Regions from separate parts of the Homo sapiens genome. Here region 1 is linked to region 2. The links are contacts of gene promoters, found by promoter capture Hi-C in human tissues and cell types (Jung and others, 2019). All regions are on one chromosome and are shown on one strand. The core of a region is centred on a gene start or on the middle of the fragment in contact, and the rest is flanking DNA. Distances in the headings are between cores, read along the strand shown. Region 1 holds the start of CCL27 (C-C motif chemokine ligand 27). Region 2 overlaps DNAI1 (dynein axonemal intermediate chain 1).

Region 1 (6,150 bases), core at 1,127-3,626, 200 kb after region 2:
ACCAAAGGAGATACCAGCATGGGGCCAGCTACACACGCAGCCAGAGGTGGAGCCTCAGGTGGACAGCCCTGCTCCTCCAAGGCCCTCCCTCCAACCACACCCTCGGCTACTTGGTGAGCTTGGGCAGATGGGCAAGACTTGTAAAGGACTGAAAACCCCAGAGAAAAGGGGACACCGAGCTTGGTCAGGCTTGCTCTCAGTGACATGTGGCCCTCCCCCTCAGATCACAGGGACTCTGTGGAGCAGGTAGCTGTGCTGGCGTCTTTGGGAATCCTTTCTTTCCTGGGACTGGTGGCTGGGGCCCTGGCACTGGGGCTCTGGTAAGTGACTGCCATTGGTCCCTCAGCCTCTGATCCTCACACATGCTCTGATGCCCATAGACCACATTCATCTCCACCCTTCATGACTGCCCGCTGAACCTGTCTGATTCTGGAACTACCTCCCCATACCTCCATCCCCCATGCCCCACTTGATTTTAACTGATTCCTCTCCTGACCCTTTACTAATAAACCCTTTGGCGGAGACTGAGATAACCCACATTGTTGGAGAGACAGCTGCCTTTCTATGCCCCAGGCTGAGGCTGAGACGGGGTGGGAAGGATGGATCCCCAAAGCCTGGGTTCTTGGCCTCAGTGATTCCAGTGGACAGGCGTCCAGGTGAGTAGGACATCCAGAAGATTTGGACTTGGAGATGTTTGCCCCTATTTTGAGTGTCCAGATTAAGAGCTGGCTGCCCTAGTCATTTTAAAACATGCTGGGAATCCAAGTTGGGTCTCCTCATTTTAATGATGTCTAGGCTGAGGGCTGGGCCTTTCATTCTTGAGTCCCTGGGCTCAGAAGTGGGTCTCTTTCCCTCCTCTCAGGGTACTGAGGAAGGACCCCAGGTGGACTTCCCTTCAGGGTATTAGTATTAGTACTAATACTCTTCCAGGGTATTAGACTCAGAGCTGGATATTCATCCTTTTTTTTCAAGGTGTCTTGGATCAGTGCTAGGTCCCCTCCTTCATTCTTAATGTGCCTGGGCCCAGAGCTAGGTCCACTCCCGTATCTTCAGTGTGTTGAAGAGGCTCCCTCAGAGCTGGGCTCCTCTACTCATCTTCAGAGTGTTAAGCTTAGAACTGAGTCACCTCCCTCATTCTCAGGGTGTCTGGGCCAAGATCCGGTCTTACTGTCTCTCCTGATTTGCCTCCTGCTTCTTCTAGGAGCTCCAAACCTGTAGAGGACCCAGGAGGGCTTCGGCAGATTCCACCTATAATTCTGTCTTGCTGGTGTGGATAGAAACCAGGCAGGACAGTAGATCCCTATGGTTGGATCTCAGCTGGAAGTTCTGTTTGGAGCCCATTTCTGTGAGACCCTGTATTTCAAATTTGCAGCTGAAAGGTGCTTGTACCTCTGATTTCACCCCAGAGTTGGAGTTCTGCTCAAGGAACGTGTGTAATGTGTACATCTGTGTCCATGTGTGACCATGTGTCTGTGAGGCAGGGAACATGTATTCTCTGCATGCATGTATGTAGGTGCCTGGGGAGTGTGTGTGGGTCCTTGGCTCTTGGCCTTTCCCCTTGCAGGGGTTGTGCAGGTGTGAATAAAGAGAATAAGGAAGTTCTTGGAGATTATACTCAGAAATTATTATCCAATGCTGCTTTATTATTTGGCTATTGGGGGCTTCAGCCCATTTTCCTTAGCATCCCAAAATTCAGCTTGGGCAGAGTCCCATGGAGCTTTCTCTCTTGGTGCTCAAACCACTGTGACAGGCTGGGGTTCTGGGGGTGGATGCAGATGCTGCGTTGAGCCAGGTGAAGCCTGGGTAGAGAAAGGTCCAAAGCTATGACCATAGCTTGGGGATGAGATTAGGGTCATCCCCAATGACCCTAATTAGGGGTTAGGAGCAAGGACCAGATGAAAACCTGAGTTGGCAACAGAATTAGCAGTTAGGGCTGGGGTTGGGATCAGCATTAGGGGTTGGGACTGAGGTCAGAGTCAGGGGTATCAGGGGTGGGAGCTCACACGAAAGCCTGGAGGTGACAGTCCCCGTCAGCCTCCTGCAGTTCCACCTGGATGACCTTCCTCAGTAGCTTGTCTGAGAGTGGCTTTCGGTAGAGCTGAGTACAGCAGGCAGTGCTGGGTGGCAGTAGGAATGCTAGGGGCAACAGGGCCATGTGTTCAGAGGGATCCTGACCAAGAACCTCTCTGCCAGACAGCTGGAGGTTAGGTTGGATTTCCTGGGTCTTTTCAACTTCATCCCATTCACCCAGACCCCCAGCTTTCTATACCCCCAAGTACTCACCTGCTGTAGGGTCTGGGCTCAGGAGCAATGACAGCAGCAGGAGGCTGCAGAAGGTTGGGGGCCCCTTCATGTTGCTCAGCCTAGACTCTTCCTTCTCTCTCTCTCCTCCTCCCCTACCTTTTATCTGGGTGCCTTTTACCTGGGGCACTAGGTGAGTCAGAGGCAGTTGGAGATGTACTGTGTAACCTGTGACACTCCTGGGCCCTAATTCTCGGCCTGTTGCCACAGACTCCTTCCTCATCTAGGATAGCCATTTCCCATGTGCTCCTAAGCTCTGGGCAGTGAAGCTGGGGGAAGGATTAGTGTGTGATGTAGGGACTGATGGAACAGTGAGTAAGGGCAGTCAAGCATCCACAGCAGCATCTAATGATAGACATTCACACTCAAATACGCATAGCCACACATTCAAAGTCACTCCTCAATCACTTGGTCAACCTCACAAAGTCATACTCATGATCAGACAACCGTAGACAAAATTATATAGCCCCGGTTATACTCAAAGTCCCTCTCCCACCCAATTGTGTTTTCACAGTCATCCAATCACAAGCAAATTCACACTAGCACACACAGATTCTGACAGGGGAGTTGTGGGTGGGGTGGGAGCAGAGGGCAGGCAAGCACCAACTTGCCTTCACCTTCTCCTCCCCACTTCCTGGCTTGGCCTGCCTGTCTTATCAGAAGAAATGGATGGGAATGGGTCCCTAGAGCAGGCCCTTCTGGCTGAGGAGGGTTCTTGGCTGAGGCCAGCCCCATTCAGAGAAGCTGGGGGAAGGCCCTTTATGGTAATATTAAGGGTGTTTTGGAGATGCTGAGGTGGGGCAGCTTTCCCCAGGATGATGAGACAGGGAGGAAAGGTGGGGTAGATAAGGAGGGAAGATAAAAGCTCTTTGGTGCTAGGTTACTGTTGTCAAAACAGGTAAAAGGCCCAGTGAATCTTACCTTCCTGTTTTTGTCTAGTCCTGTTCCAGGAATGCCAACCTCTTGCCAGCAGGGGCCTAGGGTCTCCAGATCCAGTCCCTGACTTGTTGAAGACATTGGACTCAAGCACTCAATTACATCTTTGTTTTACTCAAATTCCAGCCTCCTTCCTGGGCCTGGAGGAACATCCCCTCTCCCTACCCGGGTTCAGTCACACCCTCATGTCCAACTGCTATACCCCCTGCATCCCACCCTCCAGCTATAGCCGCTTCTCTCCTAATCCCATACCCAGCTGTCACTCCGTTCTTTACCCCCTCCCTGCAATGCAAAGCTCCTATTCATCTTTATCCAGTCCTTTCCAGGAAGCTGGGAGCTGCCTAGGGTGGGGGTATGCTGCCAAGTTCAGTGCCCCTGGCTCCTTTAAGAATTTCCCACTCCTGGTCCAGGGATCTCAATCTGCAAGTCCTGCTCTATATTTGAAACATAAACCAAGTCATAACACAGTAATCCAGCCCTTATCTTGTTGCAGTCGTCTGCTGTAGGGTCAGCCACTCTCTATGGAGTAGGCTTTCTCTTGGGATAGGGCTTAGGCCTTTCTCTTGTGTCCCAAGGCTTGTTGGGTGTAGCCACTGAGGAAATCCCAAGGAAATCTCCCAGGTTCCTCGGGCTTGTCATAGACCTTCTTCATCACTTGGCTGTGCGCTACATACTTTCTGGTCTTCCCTGGGCTTGTCGGTCCAGAAGTCTTCGGAAGGCAGAAAACAAATGCTTTTGGGTGTGCACCCATCTCTCCCCTTTAAGACCAAGTCTTCTCCCCAGCCACAATCTGCTGTAGCTTTGGCCCCAGCCAGAAACTGGGCCATCTCTTTCTTTAACTTAATCTTGTGGTGCCCTTTCTGGTGCTGGGTCCAGTCCCTAACTGAAGGCAGGCCCACATAGCAGTCCCTGATTCTCACCACTTGAGGAGTTAGTGGGTCCCAGGCTGATTGGGTGACAGAAGGGGGCGGCAAAGAGCAGTGGCCCTTGGACTCTCCTAGGGAGGGAGCAAGAACTTCTAGGTAGGCTGATGCCAAGGATCTCTAAACTTGGGATCAGACTGGAGGAGCCAAAAGTTGGGGTATGAACTGTAGGAAAGGTCGCCAACCCAAGTCGCTCCTCTGTGGCAGGCAGCTTCTAGGAATCTCCCCCTCTTACCATTTACAGCCTGCATCCTACACCTCTGCTTAAAATGTTTTAGATATACTCCCAGCAGAGAAGATTCTTCAGACAGCTGGCAAAGTCCTCGCTCCGAGGAAGGGAGTAACAGGCAGGATTATTTAGTTCTCTTCATATAGGCGACTCACAGTATGGGTTTTTGGGGGTTGGGATTGGGGGAGACAGCCATTGATAGTAACAGGAGGCCTGACACTGATGAGGGGCTTTGACGTGGAAGGGCACCCTTCCAGGGAGGGACGCCCTGTCAGTACGGAACAGAGCCCGTGTGGGGAGGGGCGCTCGGCTCGAATGGCGACAGCGGCGGCAGAGTCAGGAGGTCAGTACGGTGGGCTTCGGTTTAAATCTTTAATGCACTGGCTGGCTGGGCAGCGGCGGTGGGGCTGCGGCGGGGGAAGCCACGACCCGAGCGCTGGGGAGTAGGACCCAGGCCGCTGGACAGACAGCTCATCAGGCCTCGCAGAGGCTCCAGCTTCTGCTCCCCGGGGTGCGCCGAGCTGTGGGGCGACCCGACACTGGCATGAGGCGGGGCGGGAGCTACCGGATTCCCCCCGATGGGTCCTCAGAGACTGAGTCCCGTCCATGCCCGGGGCGGGTCCGCGGTATCGCAGCCTCCTCACCTCCGCTCCCTCCGCCACATGCGAAGCCAGGGGAAAAAGTAGAAACAGCCCCAGTAGATCCTGCAGAGAGAGGGCAGAGCCGGGCGGGGCGGGGCGGGGCGGGGAGGAGCTGACCCTACAGACTCCGCCCCGCGGTGCCTCGCCGTCGAGGAAGGCTCCGCCCCGCCTCTAAAAGCGGCTCCCTTCGCGCCCACGCCCCTGGGAGGCTCGCCCTGCCCACCCCTCGCCCCCGCAGAACTCCACCCTCCCCCACCCCGGAGCCGCCTGGTTCCTCCTCCGCAGAACCCGCCTCCACTCACTCCTCCTCCGCCTCCAGCGCCACCTCGTATCTCCTCATTCCCGACATGTCCTGGGCTCCGAACGTCTCCTGGGGAGCGGCATGATTGAATCAGGGATTCCCTAGCCCCAGGTCCCCTTCTCCGTCATTCTCAGGACGAGGCTGCCCAGTTCTCAGGTAATCTGAGGCTGATGCCCCCGAGAAGCCTCAGTTGCCACCACGGGACAGGGTGGGCTTGGAGATTTGGGAGGCACTGGAAGTTAAGGGGTGAGGAGGCCGGTCATCTCCGGGGCCTGGGGCATTTAGGGGGCCAGGGCGAGAGGTTTGGCGGTCATGGGGCTGGGAGATTTGGGGCCCTGGGTGAGGATTTTCAGGGGCTGGGGTCACCTGGAGGGGGGGCTGAGAGGGGTCAGCGCAGCCTAAACTCCCGCCCTCCCTGGCTCCACCCCGGAAACGGACCGTTACTATTACGTCACAGGGATGCCGTTGCGCACTAGGTTTGCCTGTCCCCCGGAAGGGGTGGGGTGTTCATGTCTCCCAGAGGAGGCGGAGTCGAAACGTCATCTTACGGGGTGAGGCCAGGGGCGGGGTCGGTTGATTAAGATGCGGGCAAAGGACCCTCTTTTATAGGTGTCAGGTCAGGTTTTGGAGCTACACCTTGGGGGGCCGAGGCTTCCGCAGCAGGCAGCAAGAAAAGAGAGTTGGGACTAAGTCCAGTACTGTTTTCTTAATCCCCACGTCTCCTCTACCCCTCCCTGGGCTTCTGCCCTGCCGAGTGCCTCTCTTGCCTGCCTTCCTCCCCTTGTATGACCCTGGGCCGAGGAGGAATAGGTCCTCAGA
Region 2 (6,064 bases), core at 2,773-5,272:
AGATGTTTGAGAAGTTGTCCCTGTCCTCTGGGAATTCAGTTCAATGGGGGAGACAGAACACAGGCAGAAAAAGATAAAGGAGGATGGGATCCCTGGGGATGAAGGGGAGAGAAGCCTGCAGGTTAGAGCAGCAGAAAGGCTTCAGGGAGGAGGTAGGTAGGACTGGGTTGCCAGGGGTGAGGGAAGATCAGGGTTGGGTTTGTTAGAGGATAGAGAGGAGTTTAAATTCCATTTGTTCATATCACTCCACTAGTCGCCTTTTAATGGTTCCTTGTTGCTTTCAGGATAAAGTCCCAAAAGTCCAATTTGCTTGGTATGGCCTTTGCCACCCTGCATGGTCTTGCCTTTGCTACCCATCCTACTTCAAACCTCACCATTTCTCTATGAAAATTCCACAATCCCAGCAAACTGAACTGCCCTCACTTCCTGGAAAGTGATATTCACACTGTTTATCTCCTCTAAGCTTTTGAAATCTTTTCTGTCTGTGTCTACTAGTCTACTCCACCCTACCCCAAATCTTTCCTTCATATCCTATTCATATTTCGGGTCTAAGCTTGGCCCTCATATTCTTCTACAAAGGATTAAGTCCCCTTTCTGGAGGCAGGATAGGGTGATATCCCCTCTAGACTATAAACTATGTTATGGTAAGGATCATGTCTGTCTTGTTCATTGTTGATTCCCCTCTACCTAGCACAATACCTGGAATATATTAAATTCTAAGAAAATGAGTTCAATATGAATTCTGAATGCCCTAAGTTGTTCTTGGAAATTATCATCTGAATGTGTTCGAAGGATGGGAAGGGGTGAAGCTGGGATGGGGAGACTTGTGGGGAATTATAACAAGGAAATGTAACTGTGTAAGTATGGTTTTCCAGGTACATGTTTGTATCTGCTTTGGCAGTAGGGCTATGAATGATTCAAATTTGAACCACAAGTATCCATGCCTTAAGAAATGGGTTTTGGAGACTAAGAGATAAAAATATTGATGTGTAAATATTCATGCAGTAATTATTTATCGTACCCACTCTGTGTTAGGTACTGTTCTAGGTATTGGTGATATAGCAAGAAACAAAACAAACAAAAATCCCTGCTCTCATGGAGCTTATTTTTTAGTTGGAGGTAAAGTGGCAATAAATAAATTTGTAAAATATATAGTATATTAGATGGTGATAGATGCCAAGAAGAAAACTAAATCAGAGAAGTAGACTAAGAAGTTCAGGGAATCACAAGATTATCATTTAAATAGGATGGACAGGGAAGGTGTTACAGAGGTGGCATATGAGCAAAGACCTGAAGGAAATGAAAGAGCTATGCAATACCCGGGGGTAGGGTGTGGGGTGAAGGGATGGGGATAGGGGAGGCATTCCAGACAGACGGCATAGCAAGTATAAAGTCCCTGAGATGGGAGCCTGCTACACATGTTCTGGATCAGCAAGGAAGGGAGTGGGGAATGTGGCAGGAGATAAGGTCAAAGAGGTACCTTCCCCTACCCTATAGAGTTAATCAAATAACCCATGGCATATTAAATTGGTCATTATGGAGCTCCATAAATCATAATTTGTAATTAAAATGCTTGAATGTCAGGAACCATAAACCATGACCAGCTCAAAACATCACTGGTAATGCCCCAATAGCAAAGCGTCCTTCCTGAAAATTGTGAGAGTGCCAACTGGCTGCATGTATACATGTACAGGAGGAGCTTTGCAGCGTTGCCAAACATTGCCTGGCAGCTAAACTTCTTAGTAGAAAACCGAATTAGAATCTTCTGTGAACTCCAGTTAAAAGCTAATTTTAGTTTATGACTAACAAATTTTAGTACCTCTTTATAACTCAGTTGGTTACCATAAAAAAAAAATCAAAGTCTGGAATTTTACATCATTCTCCTGTAAAAGCCAAAGAAAAGACTTTCATTTTGGATCATTTTGTGGTCTCTCAAGAGGCTCCTATGGTGCAATACTTTTAGAAATATTGATCTAGATTAGGGGTGACTAAGGTAGGAGTGAGTGGGCAGGGTTGGGCATAAGGCCAGAAGAGAGTCTTGGATGATTCAGAGATTTTGAGCCTGGTGATGGGGCCTGGTATCCACAGATGAAAAGATAGGAGGTGAACAGAATGTAGGGGAAGTTGATGTGTTTCTGTATGTCCAAAGTAAGATAGCTTCACTCCTGTGACCTCAGTGTCATTCTTACACATATATTCCTTAAGCCCTAGATATGATCTTTTACTCCCTTACCTCTTAAATATCTCTCAAATTAAACTACTTTTTTTCATATACACTGCCACCTCCCTAGCCCAGCTTACAATCGTCTCTCACCAAAGAGTGCTGTAAAAGCCTAGTAACTAGTCTTCCCTCATTCACTCGTGCCCTTTCCAGTCCATTCTCTACACTGCATGAAAAGTGATCTTTTCAAACTGTCAATCTGATTGTGCCATCCCCCACTCAGAACACTTCAGTGACTTCCCATTGCTCTTAGGATAGGGACCAGATTTTTAGACAATCGCTCCAGAGACCTGAATGGGCCTGAGACCTACCTGGGTCTCTATACCTTAATTTGTACCACTCTTCTCCATTATTGCTGTACCTTAGTTCTATGTGCTGCCCCCTTTCTGGAATGCTTTTCACACCCTCCCTCACACATGTACTCACTCCTAAGATTTCAGCCCCCAAATCAATCCCCACAACCTGCCCCCAATGCCCCCTGCCCCGTTATGGAAGGTAGGGTAAGTTTCCTCTGTTATATAGTCTCATTGCTCTGTGTTCCTTTCTTCCATAGCATGCATCACGGTTTGTAATTATTCACTTATTTGTGTAATTATTTGATTATTGTATGTCTCCCCCATTAGACTGTGAGCTCCTTGGGAGCAGGGCCTGTGGATGTTTTTGCTTATATCTGTATTCTCAGCCCCTAAAACAGTGGCCATGATGACGTCAGAAGCTCTTGATGAATGTTGAATGAGTGATCAACTGTGGTTGGGGAAGTAGCACAGGGTTCTATGGAAGCATGTGGTAGGGGGTCTTCATTCTGATTCTGGGGGAATTAGGGAAGACTTCTGGGGGGACCACCAGTATTTAAGGTTTGGATAGAAGAAGAAGAGTCCAAAATGGAGAATAAGAAGGAGTAATCAGAGAAGTAAGAAGACAACAAGGAAAAATAATATCCCAGAAGCCAAAGGAAGAATGTGTTTCAGTGAAACTGTATGGTCAGCCAAGTTGCATGTTGCTAAGGTGTCAATGAAGATAAACACTAAGATATAACTATTAGATTTAATAACTTGGAAGTTATTGGGGACCTTGGAAAGGACAATTTCAGAGTGAAAAGCTAAACTGAATTGAGCTAAGAAGGCAGTAAGAACTATGTAGGCAAAGATTGTTTTTTTAAGATGACAGACTTGAATATATTAAATGCTGAGGGGAAGGATCCTGAACGGAGAGAGAAGTTGAAGATAAAGGAGAAAGATTAAATAATGACTAGAGCCAAGTCTCTGAGGAGATGATGTTGTGGACAGGAGGAGGCACACTTTGTAACAGGACAGGAGAAGGGATGGATGCAGTTGATGATAATTTTGAGGTTTAGCAGCAGAAAGCTGAGACAGTTTTTTCTTCTTTTCCCCTAGTTGTGTTAATGGAATTCCTTCTGGAAGTGATAACTAGAAAACAATTTTTGCCAATGGCAGTTCCATTTTGTTATGATTATAGTCATGCTATTTTCAGAGTTATGGTCTGAGGTTTGTCATGCACAATTATCAGATTACAAAACAGCTGTGAGCATTTGAGGCCAGAATTTGTTTTCCTCCCCTGTGTACTAGGGGGCCTAGCACATTGTTAGCACTCAGTACATGCCAGGTACTCAAATAATAATGGCAGAGGGCTCCTGTGCTCGTTGCTGGGCTTTGCAGCCTGCAAGTTGATGCTGAGGAGTAATGTTGACTCTCTGGCTCCAGCTGTGAGCAAGCCACATGAAATTGTTTTCTGCCAGTTAGGAATTTGTATCAAGTGTTCAATCTTTGCAGTCACTGAGCACTGACAGAGTTGTATGCAAGAAGCAAGCAAAGGACACAGCTGTTGTAACTTTAGTTTCACTGGTTTGAGTCTCACAACGCTTTGTCCTACTCATAGAGTCACTGGATTCTGGTTTGTATGGTGGATTTATGTCCTCCATTTATCTCACCTCCTAGATTGAGAACCCTGGGTGTGAGAACCAACTCAATCTTGGTTCCTCTTTAGCCGTCATCCGAGGACCTGGCACATAGTAGATGCTTAATAAATGCTGAATGAATGAATAATGACTGAATGAGTTAGTTGATGAGTGAATAAATGAGTGATGGGAAGGTATGTACTGCACTACTCTGAACACTAACTTTTCTTTCTTGGCCTGCAGAAGAAGCAATTCATGCCTCCTTTATCCTAGTTAAAGCAGCCTAATCCTATTAATTATGTAGGGACCCTACCCCTAATGTTAAGCTTATTTTTCTACTTTTATTCTTACATCACATCCATTTGCTCATTTACTTATTTTCTCAATGTGTCATGTATTCAGCCTCAAATCTTATTTGGGAACAAACTGGAGTGTATATGGACAAAATAATCTGCTGCTCCTTGGAGAGTCATCTGCTTCTGTGCCTCTGTGTCTTTGTTAATTATTTTGTTCCCTCTGCATGGAATGCCCAAGTCTTCTCTTCTCTTTCTGCCCTTTACAGACCTGGCAAACTCTAAGACACATTACTTTAGTTAAGCTCTTTAAGTTACAAAGAACAGAGGCTCACTCAAGTTACCTCAGATAAAAGAGGATGAGAGAAGGGAGAAGGTATATATGTGGGGAGTTACAGATGGTTATTATAAGTACATAGATAACCTAGAATTGAAATTGGAAAACAATTAATTCTGAAACAGGTATAGGGACCAACTACTTTCTCCACATCTCTCACAGCCTCTCTATTTCTCTTAACAACTATGTTTCATTCTTATTCTTATTTCCCAACTGGCCAGATTTCCATGGTCTCCGCTCCCTCATAATTTTAGTCTGTTTCCAGCTTATCATAACTGTTCTGACCTCTCTACCTCACAAACATTTCCATGAATATCTCCATCCAACTGCTGGTTCTCCCTGTAGTCCTAGTTCAAATTCTTAAGGAGGGAATCTGATTGACCCTAGCTCATCTGTTCATGCTAGGCAATGTCAGCAAGGGACAAGATCCTATGGCTCTTTAAGCAACCAAAGCTAGAAGGAGGTATTCTCTTTGCTCAGCTCCTCCAGTGGAAGATATAACTCGCTTTACTCTAAAGTAACTTCCATATTGTTTCTGGTAAATCTCTTTCTCATGAATTGTGCGGGAAGGGGCCTCAGGGGCCTCAGATTTCTTCTAGTCCAATGCTTTCATTCAGGGCTGATATTTACATTACAAAAGGTCCTGTCCTTTACAAAAGCCTTTACTATAGGGTTTTAAAAATAGCACATTTCTGCAATGAATTTTAAAATACAGCACACAGGCCAGGCATGATGGCTCATGGCTGTAATCCTAGCACTTTGGGAGGCTGAGGCAGGAGGATCACTTGAGCCTAGGAGTTTGAGACCAGCCTGGACAACACAGCAAGACCCCATCTCTACACAAATACACACACACACACACACACACACACACACACACACACACACCACAAATTAGCCAGGTTGCATGCACCTGTAGTCCCAGCTACTCAGGAGGCTGAGGCGGGAGGATCCCTTGAGCCCAAGAGTTCAAGACTCCAGTGAGCTATGATTGTTACCACTGCACTCCAGCATGGGCAACAGAGTGAGAACCTGTCTCTAAAATAAATAAATAAATAAAATGCAGTATATATATAACCTTAAAGACCTTGATTTAGGGGATTTATATTCTGGCCATGGTGCAGAAATCTACACTGGACTTTCCCTCACACTGTAAACAGCAGTAAGCCTGGACACAATATATGACACTAATGTTTTTCGGTATTGGACAATAGACAACATAGGACAGTGATTCCTGAGGGAAGGAAAACACTCAACGTGAGTCACACATTTACCCTTGCTCTCTGCCTAAGGACAAT

The links. The method cuts DNA at HindIII sites, captures the fragments that hold promoters and counts their contacts. A contact is called where the count stands out against the background at its distance.
Region 1: the fragment with the promoter of CCL27 here is called in contact with a fragment that was not itself captured in region 2 in 1 of the 25 tissues and cell types used here (mesenchymal stem cells).

Annotation. Positions count from the first base shown.
Region 1 is chr9:34,660,281-34,666,430 of GRCh38, forward strand. It overlaps CCL27 (C-C motif chemokine ligand 27), which reads right to left and starts at 2,377. Exons shown (of 3, transcript NM_006664.4): 1 at 2,284-2,377; 2 at 2,004-2,136; 3 at 1,610-1,799. The coding sequence starts at 2,353. The coding sequence ends at 1,664. It overlaps IL11RA (interleukin 11 receptor subunit alpha), which reads left to right. Exons shown (of 13, transcript NM_001142784.3): 10 at 1-113; 11 at 224-320; 12 at 574-656; 13 at 1,202-1,622. The coding sequence ends at 1,218. LOC730098 reads right to left here and starts at 5,765. Exons shown (of 3, transcript NM_001320038.2): 1 at 5,333-5,765; 2 at 5,034-5,093; 3 at 3,883-4,910. The coding sequence starts at 5,379. The coding sequence ends at 4,754. It also overlaps a transcript of PHF24 not described here. RefSeq lists a silencer at 5,090-5,339. The HindIII fragment of the contact is 14,352 bases long and covers 474-6,150 here.
Region 2 is chr9:34,461,829-34,467,892 of GRCh38, forward strand. All of the region lies in intron 1 of DNAI1 (dynein axonemal intermediate chain 1), which reads left to right. Among named protein-coding and RNA genes, the nearest start is that of DNAI1, 6.1 kb to the left of the region's middle. The HindIII fragment of the contact is 7,861 bases long and covers 93-6,064 here.